Regions from separate parts of the Homo sapiens genome. Here region 1 is linked to region 2. Evidence: promoter capture Hi-C in 16 types of primary human blood cells and fetal thymus (Javierre and others, 2016). All regions are on one chromosome and are shown on one strand. The core of a region is centred on a gene start or on the middle of the fragment in contact, and the rest is flanking DNA. Distances in the headings are between cores, read along the strand shown. Region 1 holds the start of LOC124905149 (a long non-coding RNA gene). Region 2 holds the start of BRD1 (bromodomain containing 1).

Region 1 (2,701 bases), core at 112-2,611, 800 kb before region 2:
TTATCTGGGGAAAATCAAAAGTAACTAAACCTCCCTATTATCTAAAGCAGGCATCTGGTTCCAGATTTCTTCCCCCAAAAAACGTGTAAGTAACTATAATTTCTATGTGTCTCCAGAATACCATGACGAAACTCACTGTACAACCGTCGCTGACATTAAGGCACCAAAATTACTATAAATGTAATCATTTATCATGACTTACGTGGCTAATATGGTCCAAATTACTGTTAAGCCTCCACTTTAAGGCCTATAAATGCCCTTAAGGAGAAATCCACCCGGCGTACTCAGTCCTCTTGCTGAGGCACCTCATTGCACTCTTCTGCAGCATTCTAATAAACTTTCTTTCTTTTCTTTTTTTTTCTTTTTTTTTTTTTTGAGATGGAGTTTCACTCTTGTTGCCCAGGCTGGAGTGCAATGGTATGATCTCAGCTCACCACAACCTCCATCTCCCAGGTTCAAGCGATTCTCCTGCCTCAGCCTCCCAAGTAGCTGGGAATACAGGCTCCCGACACCATGCCCAGCTAATTTTTTGTATTTTTAGTAGAGATGGGGTTTCATCATGTTGGCCAGGCTGGTCTTGAACTCCTGCCCTCAGGTGATCCACCTGCCTCAGCATCCCAAAGTGCTGGGATTACAGGCGTGAGCCACCGTGCCCGGCAAACTTTCTTTTTTCTTTTTTTTTTTGAGACAGTCTTGCTCTGTCTCAGCTCACTGCAACCTCCGCCTCCCAGGTTCAAGCAATTCTCCTGCCTCAGCCTTCCAAGTAGCTGGGATTACAGCCACGCACCACCACACCTGGCTAAGTTTTATACTTTCAGTAGAGACAGGGTTTCTCCATGTTGGCCAGGCTGGTCTCAAACTCCTGACCTCAGGTGATCCACCCACCTTGGACTTCCAAAGTGCTGAGAGTACAAGCATGAGCCACTATGCCCGGCCAAACTTTCCTTTTTCAAACCTATTGTCGGTAAACTCTTTTTACCAACCCGCAAGTTGACCACCACTCCCAGTGCCGGGGCTCTGACAGCTCGCCTGGCAGGGACTTCTTAAGACAAACTAAAAGCTTGACACATTCAGAACAAAAACGGTGCTGCTTAAAATATTAAATGTCTTGGGTTCCCAACCATTTTCAGACTGACCACAAAATGTGACCTGCGAGTCACTACCTCGGATTGGCAGAGGCCAAGAGAGTGCTCCTGAGGTAGGAGGTGGGACTTAGTTGACCCAGTTGAGGATTGGCTAAAACAGGGTTGGGGCAATAGCAGCTTTCAGTCAGATATGCCCGCCACTGTGCCATGTCAGTTTACCATTGCCATGGCAACACCCAGGAGTTGCCACCCCTTTCCATGGCAATGACCCAATGATGACTACTCCTTCCCTAGAAACTTCTGCATAAACCATCCTTTAATCTACATGCAATCAAAAGTGCGTATAAATGTGACTGCAAAACTGCCCTGAGCTGCTACTCTCAGCCTACGGGGTGGCCCTGCTCTGCAGGAGCAGTCACAGAGCTCTAACGCCACCTGTTCAATAAAGCTGTTTTCTTCTACCTCTGGCTTGTCTTTGAATTCTTTCCTGGGCAAAGCCAAAACCCTCACTGGCTAAGCTCCACTCTGGGGTCTGCCTGGCCTGCATCATTCCCACTCGCTCACAACTCAAGCTTTCAAGGACATCAAAAGAGAGGAGAATCTCATCCAGTTTTCAGTTCAGGGACCCACAGCAAAGTCTGTCTAACTAGACGCATCCGATCAGAGCTGCAAAACTGACTAGCCTGCAGGACGGCCCCAAGACGGGGTTTACAGGGGTTTTAGGCCTGTGTTCTACCCTCTTTATGACAGAAAAACACAGAAAGACAAGAATGAAAGACGACTATTTCTGGGGAAAAAAAGCAATCAAACAATATGAATACAAAACTAATCACATAAATACATTTCTCTCATTAAAACTTTGAAGAGGAAAACAAGGTAAACAGACATTTTTACCGTCGGCTTGACAAGATTCCAGAGAGGCCGGGAGCCTGGCTGCTAAGACCTTCTTACCCTTCTTTCTGCCAGCTTGTCGGCTCCTGGGTTCCCCTGACGGAGGCTCCCAGGAGAGTGACTTTAGTTATCCTACCGACTGCACCAAAACTGTAGGAGCCTAGAGAAAAACTTTTCTGCATTCTGAGTTCACAGAAAATCAACTGACAAAAGCCAGGTTAGTAAGAAAAAAGGCATACAGATTTATTCATGCACACAGGGAGAACCAGAGTGATGACCCCAACCTCCCAATGGGGTTCGGAAGCTTATATACCATCTTGAGGTTACAGAAAGAACATGGGCTCAAAGTATGGCCACAGTTTATGGTGGAAAATCAGGTGACCAGTGGCAAGACCGGTTACAGGAGGGAGAGCAGAGGAGGCCTGGCTAGCAAAGGTGGCCTTGTTCTACAGATGAAACCTCACAGGTAGCAGCCCTGAGAGAGAACAGATGGTGAATGTTCCCTTCAGGCCTTTAAAGGCGTCAGACTGTTACTCTTCCCAGATCAGGCAAGGAGGGCCTCAGAGGAGGCCTGGCCGCATCAGTGTAGATTCTCTCCACAGATGCAAATCTCCCCCACAAAAGACAGCTTTTCAGCTATTCTTCTATTTCCAGTCCTTCTGAGTAACTGTCTTGAACCGTGTCAAGGAAATATATTTGGAGGTGACATATTGTGTTTTCCTTCA
Region 2 (2,747 bases), core at 179-2,678:
GGCCTGTGGGGCCTGGCCCCTATCAGGGACACTTGGGCGAACAAGGCCACCCCACTCCCAATAAGGTGTTTGGTGCAGTGCCCCGAGCAGTGGGGCCGCTCGGCTGCCCCCGTGGGGACGGTCTGTCCCAGGGTGGACAGCTGCTCTTCCTGAGGGGCCTGCCTGGATGCCACAGGCTGTGCTGCTGGAACCCAGGGATTCCACAGCACCATCGTCCTGATCACAAATTCTCAAGGAAACCAAGGAGCTCCTGCCTCACCTTAAAACATTTGGGATTTAATCTTGGAGTGAAAATTGTTATGACCCCACTGAATTTTAGAGTTTACACAAAAGGCCAAAGTGAAGGCAGAGACTCAGGCCTCTCAACTCCCACCCGCAGGGGCCTTTTCTTGCAACCTTAAAGGGCATCTGCTTCACGCCGGCCTCGGCAGGGCCCTCACACTGGCAGGACTACTTGCACACCGGGCCTGACACTCACTAGGGGAGGCTCCCCAGCCCGGCTGCACCACCCACCTCTACCTAGTCGCGTGTCCCGGCCAGTGCCCTTTCCACTCCCACCCAGTGCCCCCGCAGGGCCCCCTCTGTCCTCTTAGGGACCTCCACTCCCGGACCAATAGCCTCCTGCCTCAGGGCCCCCCACTCATGGGCCAATCGCCCCCTGCCTCAGGCCTCCCCCCACTCGTGGGCCAATCGCCCCCTGCCTCAGGCCCCCACCAACTCGTGGGCCAATCGCCCCCTGCCTCAGGGCCCCCCATTCCTGGGCCAATGGCCTTCTGCCTCAGGGACTCCCACTCTCAGCTGGTCCCCCCCGCCTCAGGGACCCCCACTCCTGGCCGTTCCCCCGTCAGGGCCCCCGACTGGCGGCTGCTCCCCCATCCTGCCTCGGGGCCCCCCACTCCCGGGCCAATGTCCTTCTGCCTCAGGTACCCCCACTCCCGGCCCGTCCCCCCGCCTGTGGGCCCCCCACTCCAGGCCGGTGGTAGCCCCTGCCTCAGAGCCGCCCACTCCTGGGCCATCTCCTGCCTCAGCGACCCCACTCCTGGGCCAATGCCCTTCTGCCTCAGGGACCCCCACTCCCAGCCGGTACCCCCCTGCTTCAAAGCCCCCGACTCCCGGCTGCTCCCCACCTGCCTCGGGGCCCCCCACTCCTAGGCCTACGTCCCCCTGCCTCAGGGCCCCTCATTCTCCATCCTCCTGACCCCCTCAGGGACCTTCTGGCCCGGTCCTCCCTAACTCAAGGGCCCCCACTCTCCATCCTCCCGACCCCCCACTCCCAGCCCGGTCCCCGCCGCCTCAGGGCCCCCTTTGGCCCCCGCTCCTCGCGGCGCCCCCTCCCCCGCGCGCGGCCGAGGCAGCGGAGTCCGCGCGTCATGGCGGCGGCGGGCGGGGCGCGTCTCGCACGCAGCGCGCCGGGCGGAGCGCTCGCCGCATTGTTTGCTTCGCTGGGGAGCGAGCGAGCGACCCGGCCCTGGAGTCCGAGCCAGCCCCGCGTCCCGCGCCCGCCGCCCGCCGCCCGCTCCCGCGCCCGCGCCCGCGCCCGCCGGCCGGGCCCCCCGAGCCGGGCCTCCAGCTGGGCCCCGAGCCCGAGCCCGCGCCGCGCGAGCCGCTGCCCGAGAGTCCGCGGCCGCCGCTGCCGGGCCCGGAGCCGCCGCGGCCGAGAGGGGCCCGCGCCCAGGAGCGGCGGCGGGGCCCGGCCTGCGCGGCCGTTGGCGGAGGAGCCGCGGGCGCCATTAGCACCGCCTCGGCCGCGCCGGCCCCCGCGCCCGCCCGCTTGCCGGGCTCCCGCGGCCGCGGCGCCCCGAAGGTGAGTGGGCGGGGGCCTGGCCGGGGAGGCCTCCCCGCCGCCTCGCGGGCCGCCCGGCCGCCGCCGCCGCCTCGGCCCGGCCTCTCGGGGTTGTGGTGCCGACGCCATGTTTGGCGGCGGCGGCGGCGGCGGCGGCTCCGCATTGTCTGCGGGCCGGGAGCCCGGGATGCCGGGGAGGCCGGGCGGGGAGACCGGGGAGGTCGGGCCGGGCGGCCGGGGAGACGGGCGGGAAGACGGGGAGGCCGGGCGGGGAGACCGGGTAGGTCAGGCCGGGGAGTCGAGGGAGGCCGAGTCGGGCTGTGGGTCTCGGCGGCCTGGGCCGCGGGCGCCTGCCCGGAGTCCGCGCTCGAGTCGGGTCGGGCCTCGGGCAGCCGCCGAGCCGGCCGGGCCGCCCCTTATGTAACAGACAGGCCCGCCGAGCTCTGCCAAGACGGGAACTCCCTGTGAGCAGGGACGCGCCCCGAGATCGCCCAGGAGCCGCGCGGCCTGCGGCGGCCGGGCTTGGGAACCGGCACCGCGGCCTCCCCGGGCGTTTGCAGGGAGACGCCTCGCGACGAACGCGAGGCTTCCCCGGGCCTTTTAAAACGAGTGACACGATTGAGGCGCAGTTCACGGGAAACGCGGCTCTTGTGAGCGGACGCGGGAGTTCTGAGAATCCGTAGCAGCGGGACCCCCTGCCCCGCGGGGTGCGGCCCCGTCTCCCCAGAAAGCGCGGCCGCCCGTGTCTGTTTTTGAGGGTCTGTCGCCAGGTGGTTGTGTAGTTAGTGGAATCGGCGGATGTTTTTGTTTGGCCGGCCCAGCGCCGTCCCGAGTGCTGTGTGCTGCACACAACTTCGCACAGCTCAGCGGCCGCGGCCCCTGTGGCCTTGACCGAGAGGCCCGGCGCGTGGCCGGCTTCTCCCTGGGCGGGCGGTGGGAAGATGGAAGCGGCCGTCTTGTGGGC

What was found. The method cuts DNA at HindIII sites, captures the fragments that hold promoters and counts their contacts. A CHiCAGO score of 5 or more calls a contact.
Region 1: a contact is called between a fragment that was not itself captured here and the fragment with the promoter of BRD1 in region 2, in 1 of 17 cell types (monocytes). The highest score is 5.1, in monocytes.

The regions. Positions count from the first base shown.
Region 1 is chr22:50,629,174-50,631,874 of GRCh38, reverse strand. It overlaps LOC124905149 (a long non-coding RNA gene), which reads right to left and starts at 381. Exons shown (of 2, transcript XR_007068161.1): 1 at 1-381. The HindIII fragment of the contact is 597 bases long and covers 1,063-1,659 here.
Region 2 is chr22:49,826,554-49,829,300 of GRCh38, reverse strand. BRD1 (bromodomain containing 1) reads left to right here and starts at 1,428. Exons shown (of 13, transcript NM_001304808.3): 1 at 1,428-1,804. RefSeq lists silencers at 1,294-1,363, 2,094-2,263. The HindIII fragment of the contact is 34,147 bases long and covers 1-2,747 here.